Linked DNA regions of Homo sapiens: region 2 is linked to region 1. Evidence: promoter capture Hi-C in 16 types of primary human blood cells and fetal thymus (Javierre and others, 2016). All regions are on one chromosome and are shown on one strand. The core of a region is centred on a gene start or on the middle of the fragment in contact, and the rest is flanking DNA. Distances in the headings are between cores, read along the strand shown.

Region 1 (7,213 bases), core at 2,647-5,146:
CTTTTCTCAAGACATTTTAGTACCATCTTCAAGAACTTTGTTGCAATAAACACACAAATTTCTAGGACATTAATAGTGACCCCCTTAGACGTGGTGCATTTGTGCAGTGCACAACCTGCACACCCTTACGCATTGGCCCATGACACCAGAGACTACATTATGAGCCTTACACTGGTCTGATTTTAATTTAAAAGCTGGAAAGGTGACAGATGGGCATCTGATGAAAGTTGTAGGTAGGGATGGAGATTACATGAACCCTCTGCTTTGTGCAGGAGGAACATCATCTCTGGATGCTCCCAGCTATTGATCCCCGTTTACTCCTAAAATGGATGGAATAATTTCAGGACTGCATTTAAGGGGAGCTAAAAACTTAGGGACCTCAGTGCCTCCTTTCATCACCCGTCATTGTGTTCCCCCAGCAAGGGCAGGCAGTGGAGGTTTGAGTGAGACTTTTGCACTCTCTGCGCTGCCTTGATCCTTGGCTTCACTCTAGGGAATGCCTACATCAAAGGGTCCCCTCCAAGTGTCGTTCTGGGAGTTTTGGCTCTCGTCTGGTACCTTTTTATCTGACTGTTTACCAAACCAAAGAACTCAGTAGGCTCAGAACTCACTGCAAAGGAACATTCTGTTCCAGACTTGCAGTCCTTGCCACTCTCTTCGTGGGGGGGTGAGGGGACAGAAAAGCATGAGAATGTCTTGTAGAAGTCCTCAGTGAGGGCACTGCCCAATTACATAATCTTGAGGTGCCAATTATTTATAACATTAAACTGCCTATGCGTAGATCAATATCAAGCAGCAATCAAATGAAACAGTGTTATAATTTCTGATTAAAACAACACAAATTTAGAAATACCAACAAATGCAAGGTATTGTAGAAAAAATATGAAAATTGTGTTTTATCCATAGTTGCATTCTCCTTTCTCCATTTTGTCACCTAGTTCTTATGTCCTCTTACGTATATTTGATGAACTGCCTCAAAATCTTTCTGGAAAGAGAGGTCCATTAGGAATGGAGAGAGCTATTGGATCCTGACTTCATCATCCGGTACCTTCCGGCCCAGATGGGACTGTGCATCGTAAGATATATTCTAAAAAATAAGACAGTACCAGAACTGTTGCAGAGCTAGGCGGCATGATTTCATGGCCAGTGAGGAATAGAGATGTAAACTGCTTTAAGTGCACAGAAGCCCACTGCGAAATCCAAATAGATTTGGGCAGAGTATGAGGAGGGGGAGGAGAGAGAAAACATTCTAGGGGCAGAAACTCCAAGAAGAAAGTCGAAGAGGAGAGCAGCTTTATGTAGGTTCATTTGTGATTGTTCCAGGCAGAGAGATGGAAGGTGCATTCACTTGGTATGGGAACAGAGAGGGGCACCCAAAGAGGAGATGCAAGGGAAAGACCAAGGAAAGGCAATGTTAGGGCATACTCAGCAAATGACTCTCTGGAAATAATAAAGGAGCTACTGTAGAAAGAACAGAGAAAAGTTCATTGTATTGTGCAATTAGGCTGTTAAAAGCACCGAGAACACATGTATGCACGCAATGAGTGCCCAGTTGTCTACAGCAACAGGGTGGCAGCGGACCCTGGCATCTCAGAATCCTGCAGTATGAGAATTTGGCAAGCCCTGCATCAGAAAGCTACCTAGTTCACAGTTCTTGAATGAAGCAAATGGTTTCCTCTGTACTCATAACTGCACCCCTTCTGATGTCAAAGCAGGGAGAAGTTTGTCCCCTTATTCAAGCCAGGAGGAAGGTTCCATTTGGAAACCCCCAAGGTAAACCAGTGCTGATTGAGAGGGGCTGACATCAGAATGGGGGCACCTCTACATGTTCGGCACGGTGCTTTGAAGATGTCATCCCTCATCACAACTTTATAAAGGAAGAAAAGTTACCCCACTTTACACTGAGGAATCTGAGGCTCAGAAACTGTGAGTAACATGCCTAAGGTCATACAGCTTGTCAGAGAAAAGCTAGTATTCAAACTCAGGTTTATCTGACTTGGAATTCCATGTGCCTTGTGCTGCCTTGTGCATACAATATGGCAAGGCTGTAATTTGTGGCCCCCCACTTAAGGTGTGGCTTTACAGGGACCAGGAGAAAGGCCAGGGAGGGAGGGTGGGTACAGAAAGAGGTGGTTTTTCCAAGGAGGTCTGAGATTCACTACACACCTTCAGCCCTGACCAGTGCGACTGAGGCAGAAGGCTCCATGGGTGTCATGTGGAGGCAGCTTCAGGATGAGGTCCATAAATATGCATCATGGCCAAGTTGAGTGAAGGAATTAATGAAAAGCAAACATACAGGCAGAAGTTGGAAATATTGGACAGCACTGGAGTGGCTAAAAGTACAAACTTTGAGTCAGACTTTGAGCAAGTTATTTAAACTCTGAGCCTCAGATTGCTCATCTACAAAATGGGGACAATAGTATAATATAGGAATTTTGCAAATGCTCTACCATTTGTGGCAGTTATTATTCTCATTACCATCATTAGCATGATTATTTCTATCAGGGACAGTGGTCCATTTGCATAAGGAAGTCATGGAGACACTAGTATGATTCCTTTCATTCCCAAAGCAGGCCACTCACACTGTCTCCTGAAGATTCATTTTTCTCCTTCAGGGAAACCCGAGGAGCTTATTTTCTCCTTATTTTACCAGGGAAAAAATGTTGGAAGGAGATTTGCCTGAACCTGGAAACTCTTATTATGAACCTAGACCTATACACACCCTACCTCAGCTGCTCGGGAGGCACTTGGAGGAAGGATGTCCCAAGCCGGCAAGAACCCTGTGGTCTGGCGGGTGTCCAGCGGGTGGAGCCAGAGAGCTCCCAGCCATGGGCCACCTAGCTGAAGGCTGATAAGTACTATCTGCACATCCAAGCAGGCAGGAGACCCAGATAAAAGACCTATGACATCTGCATGGCTGGCTGTGGGATTACATATATATATTATATATATATTTAAAAGTATATGTATATATGTATATATATTACATATATACACACATATATATCTACACATATGTAATATATGTATATATGTATATTTATTATATGTATATATCTACATATATACATGTATGTATGTAATATAGATGTATATATGTTACATATATACACACATATACATATATACACATATATTTTTTTAAAATTCTGCACTCATAAAAGTAGATTTGAGTTAGATTTTTGCCATAACAGAACAAGCCACAAAATTGAAATTTAAAAAGAAGGGGGAAGGAGGAGATATTTTAATTCAGTTTTAGATTTCCCTGCTATAGAATGTTTGCTTCCTGACTTTTAAAGAGGCAGCAGAGTATGTCCAAGAATTCTCACCTGGGAAGACAGACATTCCAGGGAAACACTGATATTTTTGTTTTCTCCTCACTGGGAAAAAGGCAGCTGGCCTTCAGAAAACAACTTGCATGTACCTTATCTTCCCCACCCTCCCAACAGCCCCTCAGGCCCTTGCTGGAGTCTTACATCTGTGTAGAAGTTGTGCCAAGTCTAAGAAAATTTCACCCCAGGAGCAGTCGCTTAGCTTCCGAGTCCACACAGCAGCAACCTGCCCCATGGTTTTTAGTTTGACACCGTGTTGATCCTTTTCAGTTGTAAATCTTTCCAAAAATATGAGTAGGGGCCAGAGGAAACAGGAGAAGAAAAAGATGCATTTTGGTAGGATTATTGCTGGTCAAAGACCTTGGAATGCTGTGGAAACTGTGGCAAAGCAGTTGGTACTCTGTCAAGAACAGAGAGAGAGACATCGGGTACTGAAGCCAGGGGACCAGTTCCTTGGTGTTGCTTTGGCATTGATGCCTGAAGTGGGAGGAGAAAGCCGAGCCCACAAACACACAGAGCAGAGTGGGGCTCTGAGTATATAACTGTTAGGTGCCTCCCTCCAGCACCATCTCCTGAGAAGCACTCTCCCTTGTCGTGGAGGTGGGCAAATCTTTATCAGCCACTGCCTTCTGCTGCCAGGAAGCCAGCTAGAGTGGTGTAAGTACTCATCCTTATTTCTATTCATTTCCAACTATTCATCATTTGGGGCTTGTCTTCACAGTTCTAAGTTTTGCTCTTTTTCTTAATGAAGAAAATGTTTTATATCACCGGAATTGATCAGAAGTAGCAAAATCAGAGTTCTGGTAGACTAGAAAGCAATTTACCAAAGCCACAGGCTTCTTCCTGGAAGCTCAAAGGCATGCCTTTATTCGTGATTTCTGAAGCAAGGTGCATGCAGCACCTGAGCTGATGTGGAAGAGGGTTTGCAGGGAGGTGTCCACCCAATGTGCTCAATGATTCTGGGTTAATCAACACTATTAGGAGTTTCAGGTTGTGTTCTTGAAATAATAATTTGGGCTGTGTTCTTGAAATAAGTTCGAGGCGAGTGTCTACAAGACTCAAAAGAAAAAAGTGGGCCACTGGGAATGGCCCTTTCCAGTGATGGATTTATGGACTCCTCTGTGTGTGCTGTCATGCTGAAGGGAATGTTCTTGTGCACCCATCGGGAGAACAAGTCAGTCACAACTGAAGCCACGAATTTGGCAGCTTCCTTGCAGCTGCACTCTCTGGAGTCTGGAATCAAGACTTCTGGGAGTAGTGTTTTCCAAGGAGGGAAGTGTTTTAACCAGGACACAGGAATATCTGACAGCATTTTCTTTGTTTCCAATTACAGCTTTAAAGAAAACTGGGCATCTCCTGCTACTTAAAATCAAAAACTACCTAAAATAAAGATTATAGTAAGTACCAAATAAGTGTCAATGCTGAAAGTCTCTTTATTATGCTAGACCATGAGTGTTTAAATGCTTTCTTCTATATCCATATCCAACACTTCATATTATTTTTAAAAGTAATAGCTGAAGCATGGAAAATTGAAGACTTCAGGTCTCTCCAATTGCACAAATTTCTAATACATGCTGGCAATAGAATATATTTTATTTCGTGTAATAAAATAGAGGATATTAGTTGACCTGAAATCTTGATATTGCCTTGTATTAAAATGCTAAGCACTGCTTCATTTTACTAGTGATCTGGGGTATGAAAAGTGCTTTTTGACTTCTGCTGGAAAGCTCTTCAGGTGCAGCTTCCAGGATATTCTTGGGATGTTAACTTCAGCACACATAAGCCTTGCTGTAGATGTGTCAGCTTTGAGGCACAGGGAGACATTTGTTTGTCAGAGAGTAACTGCTTCTGGCAAGGGCATAGGGTGAAACTGGGGATAGCAGAGCTCTTTCTTTGTGGTTGTTCAACCCCCACCCCAAGATTAGTTCAAAGTGACCGTGAAGATAGTCTGTGCCCACCGCATCGCTAAGTCCTAGCCCTCTCTGCATACTCCAGCACACAGAAACTGCTGCTTCACTTGTTTGTTGACTTGAACCGAACCTTGGGTGGCATTAATGTGCCTGGCCCAAGACTGAAAAATTAAGAACCACCAGAGCTGACCTATTCCATAAGACCCAGTCTGCCTGCCACGTACTGAGTGAATCTGGATGATGCCCACTCTGATCCTTGGTTTTCTCTTCTATAAAATGAAGGCTTGAACTACGTGGTCTCTAAAATCCTACCTAGCTCTCAAATTTCTCTTGGTTCTAGGAAAATATTGATGTTGAGCTCAAGGAAGGGGTTCTCCAAGGTGTGTGATTTTGGTGGTAGAGGAAAGGCCGGTGCCAGGCAGGGGCAGAAGGAGACGCTGTCTACACTGAGAAAATGTGACAACCCCTGCTTGTCTCTTTTTTCATTCTTCATTGTTTCTTATTTCTTTGTTTTTAGCTTTATATAACATGAGAGCCCTACCACTGGGTTTCTTAACCATTTGTTCTTTATCAAATAAAAATATTCATAATGCAACATGCAGGCACATCAGTGTGGTACAGAACTAGCCAGCTAGTTTACTATAGGTAAATATACACACATGCATGCACACACACAATTTTTACCTGAGACATGTCAGAAGTGTTTCCTAAAATTGTGGATTTTTCTGAGTCATTCTGGTAAAGGGTAGGTTTTCAGGTTTTAGGCCAAGCCAGAAGAAGAAAGTAAAAACAGAATAAACAACAGGGGGAGAAAAAGAGAAATACCACACACACAACTGGAACTTCTGGTAAAAGAGTGATATTCTTGGATGCAATGGAAGTTTTAAAAAGGAAAAAGAAAATTTATAAAAAGCTGCCACATTTGTGGAATTCAACTAAAAACTGTTTATTATTAACAAAGTGATGTTCAAAATTTAAGAGTTCTTGGCCTGGCATGATGACTTATGCCTGTAATCCCAGTGTTTTGGGAGGCTAAGGTGGGAGGATCACTTGAGGCCAGGAATTCAAAACCAGCCTGGACAATACAATGAGACTTTGTCTCTAAAAAAAAATAAAATAAATTAAAATAAACACAGCTGGATGTGGTGGCACAGGAAAAAAAAATACCATTTAGGAGTCTCTTAAAGGCAGCTTGTGAATGCTTACAAAGCGTGGCTAGTATCTTATTACAGAAAACAGAGCCCACATCATGCATCCTTCTTCTCACATTTCATAAACAAGGCCAAGGGAAACTGCTGTGGGGCAACCTGTTGCTTTGGTGTTGGTCCCCAAGATGCAGCCCTCACAATCTGCCCCCAAACGTGTCAGAACATGAACCCCCTCCTCCCCCTCTGGAAGAAGCAACCTCAGATCCAACAGCAGAGACACGCAGCAGAACAAAATCTGGGCATTGGTCCCTGTGTAGGATGGCTTCCCGTTATTTTTTTTTTAAGCAAAGTAAATGAACATCAAATTTCCATAGTCAGCTGCTGTCTTTCTGCCCACTGAGAGCTCTTTGGTGAAGGCAAAGTCCTCCTTCTTCATTAGCGGTCTCCCATGTGGGGCCACATCTTCCCTCACCAGGAACCCAGTGGGCGCGCTCCAGCCCCCCTCAGCTTGCCTTTTGCGTGGTCATTAGAGCTAGGGCACACGTCATGCTGATTCACATATTTTTGCCCTTTGTCATGTATTGAGAAAAAGTAAGGATGAATGGACGGTCTTTGATTGGCGGCGCTGGTGACGCCCGTCATGGTCCTGTTTGGAAGGACCCTTTTGGAACTAAAGCTGGTGACGCAGCGCGCAGAGGCATCGCCCGGCTAAGCTTGGCCCTGGCAGATGGGTCGCAGGAACAGGTATGCTTCCTTCGTGCAGCCTCTGGCTCGGGGAACCTGGGAGCCTGCTCCAAACTCTGGTGTATCTTTTCCGGGCAGA
Region 2 (3,484 bases), core at 409-2,908, 160 kb after region 1:
TTAGTGTAACTATGTATGTTTACGTTTTCATTGGCTACACTGGAATTTCTCTGAATTGAAGAATTTGTATTACAATACAATATCATGGATAATTTTATAACACACTTTTAAAAAAGATAAATGTATAAGATTTAGAACCCCATCTTAGTAAGACAAATGACAGAAAGGGTTGGAAACTGAAACCTCTCTGTACCCCAACCTGCAAAGGAGGGGCAGAGACAAGCTATAGCAAGCACCCTACATTCACTATGTAATGAATATATCCATTCATATATTGTGACATATATGACACATATATGGGCTCATGCCTGTTCTATATATTTCTACTTTCTCTCCTTGACACTCAATATAAATCTCTTAATGTGCCTATTTAAATCTCTCTTAATGGAAAGTCCAAACACCTAGCTCCACATCGCATGAGAAGTATATTACCTGTTTTCCTGCTGGCAGTTGGGTCTTGGGCCAAACAGGTCATTTCTAAGTCAATCAGCCTTTTCACAAGGTAGCCCAAGAATGTCTTCACATCAGCCATATAAGGACTCCATTTTGAGAATAAACCAAAGCTTTTAAAGTCCATCTTGGATAACCGAAGCTTATAAAAAAAGTCTGAAAGCCACTGTATAGTCTCCATTACCTGGAAGAGACAACTAGTCAAAAAATGCTTACTAAATATGTATTTTAGTAAAGTGTTATGATACACTGTGATGGGGGTGTATATAGTAGGTCTTTGACTTTATAAGAGAGTGGCAAAAATATAAAGCATATGAGAAATAAATCAATGGTTTTTTGTTTTTGTTTTTGTTTTGAGGTAGAGTCTTGCTCTGTCGCCTAGGCTGGAGTGCAGTGGCACGATCTTGGCTCATCGCAACCTCCGCTTCCTGGGTTCAAGCGATTCTCCTACCTCAGCCTCCTGAGTAGCTGGGACTACAGGCGTGCACCACCATGCCCAGCTCATTTTTGTATTCTTTAGTAGAGACAGGGTTTCACCATGTTGCCCAGGCTGGTCTCGAATCCCTGACCTCAAGTGATCCGCCCACCTTGGCCTCCCAAAGTGCTGGGGTTACAGGCATGAGCCACCGCGCCAGGCCATCAGTGGGTTTCAAACCTTTTCTAAATCAGTGGAACCATTATTTCAAATAAATTCTCATGCAAATGCATATCAAACAGAAAGGATAAAACCCAGAGCTCCATGGGACACTGCATCATAGAAACCCGACCAGAGGTCTCAGGGTGGAGTCCGATGGGCTAGGGTGGGCAGGAAAGATCTACAGGGGAGTGCCTGCCCTTGTCTTGGATACATGGGCAAGAATTAGACTCAGGGGAATGGGGTGAGCCATCTGGAAAAAGGGGACACGAGGGAACCAAAGCACTTAACACAAAGAAAAACACATGGCTCTTAAAGATAATGCACAAGTTTTCCAACTGCTTAAAAAATGAATAGCAAGGGAAATAAAAAGAAATGCACAAACACGTCAGAGACCAAAGGCTACACACCTGCTTGTCTGACAAGAGAGCATCAGAAGAGCTGGGAAGCACGGCGCCCTCGGTGGACGCTGCCCCCTGCTGGCAGCTGGGGGCGCAGCAGCCCAGGGCTCTCAGAGTGGCCTTCCAACACTCGGGGCTCAGAAGCTGCTCCGCGGAGCCTGCCAGCAGGGACAGGAAGAGCAAGTCAGTGGCTTTCCCGAAAGGAATATTTTAACTTGTAACAAAGAATATGAGCACCTTATAAAGGAATAAAAATAAAGCCAAAATCCAAAACAAACTCACAGGGATATCTGGGGTGAGGAGGCCCAAGTAAAGAGAACCTAAGAGAAGAACTGGCCACCTGCACATTTGGTTTTCCTGGTTCCTGGTAACCCTGCTGGGAGTGAGCGCTGCTGAAGCTGGTGGAGCTACACTCAGAGGGGTGGGAGACCTGACCCTCCGACCCTGACTGGGGAATGGTGGCAGTGCCTCTCCTGGCTGGGGGACCACAGCTATCTATGAGTGTGACAGAAACAACAGTCACAGGACAACGGAAACCACATGATGAAGGCAACTCAGGGCCTGGGCTCTCCAGAAGGAGTCTCCTACCGGCCCCCCAATTCCCCGAAACCAAGACCCAGAGGCAGCATGGAAACGCTGGACAAGTCCAGCAGCCCATATTCTGAACTAGTCCCAACTCTGCTACTTAATAACTTCCCATCCCACAGGACAGGAATAATATCTCCTAAAGTACTTTCCACCCAGAGCGAACATGAGAATCAACTAAAATAACAGGTTCATGGAGCAGGTCTGAGGAGAACGATGGTGAGGCCAGTTACAATATGTCCAGTGTGAGGTACCTGGGGACAGTGCCAGTCTGTGTCCAATGGCCACTGGGGTCTGGATCTTAGGACAGCGCCCCAAAATTAAGCTATCACTGGAAATCACACATGCCTAGAAGGTGGCAGTGACATCAGGGAAAACAACGGGCTCACCCAGAGGGAATGAATGCAGTAGAAGAGCAAAGGATGCTCCCAAGGGAACATCAACATGGTAGCCAAGGAGGAGAAAGAAACCAGGAGGCTGAAGCTCATGACATCTGAGAGGTATCATATTGTTATTCTTAAGTCTGAATTACTTTTCTTGGTAAGAACAAATTTCTAGCTAAATTCCAGTCAATAGTGGTCTAATATAAATGGTTTACAATCTCTTTAAAAGATTTCAGGGAAAAATCCACAACACACACTATTTGAAACTTTAAAAGCTTAGAGAAAAAATTAGCTATGCACATATTCATTGGCATTTGTACAAATGTATTTCCCTTCCACCATTCTCCACCCACCCTGCAACCTGCCTCTGTGGGAAACAATTAAAGCTTGAAGTGCTTTCAAAATGAGAGGCTGCACATTTCAAGGTCCTTTGGGCAACCCGATACACTGGATCATTAACTTATCCATTAAACTATTTCTATGATGTAACACAAAAATTTGGTATAAAGCAAAATTTCATTTGCTATTATATCTATAAACCGTATGAAGTTTGCATTAAAAAGTAAATACTATCTCATTTATCAAATTTTAATAAAATTACTGCCTAGCGAAACTCCAAAAATAAAAAAGCCTACCCTATTTATTTCTCCTCTAAACTCTAAAATTGCTATAGAAAATTGTAAGAAGGGGGAACAGAAGTGGCAGGAATGTGGAGATTGTAATGCTGCTCTTTCCCTTGGTAAATATAAATAAAGTCTATCATTACATATGGATAAAATTAATTTGCAAAAAACAAGAGTAAAAGACTTAGAAAGGAAAAACTCCCAAAATGTTTGGAACTACAGAGAAACAAACTGTCATATTAAACATATCATAAGGCACAACCTCCTTGCTTTGCCAGATCTGTCGTCTGCAGAGTAAGCCAGTCCTTTCCCACCCCACTTCAAGACAGCTGAAAAGTCAAGACAAAGAAGTACCTGCATGACTGTGGACTCCACCAAACTGGAGGTGCTGCCTTGCCCAATTAGAGC

The links. Contacts are between HindIII fragments. The CHiCAGO score rates a contact against its expected background, and 5 or more counts as called.
Region 2: a contact is called between a fragment that was not itself captured here and the fragment with the promoter of SLC14A1 in region 1, in 4 of 17 cell types (endothelial precursors, M0 macrophages, M2 macrophages and 1 more). The highest score is 6.4, in endothelial precursors.

Annotation. Positions count from the first base shown.
Region 1 is chr18:45,720,285-45,727,497 of GRCh38, forward strand. It overlaps SLC14A1 (solute carrier family 14 member 1 (Kidd blood group)), which reads left to right and starts at 3,897. Exons shown (of 10, transcript NM_015865.7): 1 at 3,897-3,989; 2 at 4,666-4,729. All of the region lies in intron 6 of LOC105372093 (a long non-coding RNA gene), which reads right to left. LOC105372092 (a long non-coding RNA gene) reads left to right here. Exons shown (of 4, transcript XR_935422.3): 2 at 939-1,075; 3 at 1,713-1,926; 4 at 2,654-2,751. The HindIII fragment of the contact is 29,148 bases long and covers 1-7,101 here.
Region 2 is chr18:45,878,581-45,882,064 of GRCh38, forward strand. It overlaps EPG5 (ectopic P-granules 5 autophagy tethering factor), which reads right to left. Exons shown (of 44, transcript NM_020964.3): 32 at 1,495-1,643; 33 at 433-634. Among named protein-coding and RNA genes, the nearest start is that of SIGLEC15, 55 kb to the left of the region's middle. The HindIII fragment of the contact is 2,136 bases long and covers 591-2,726 here.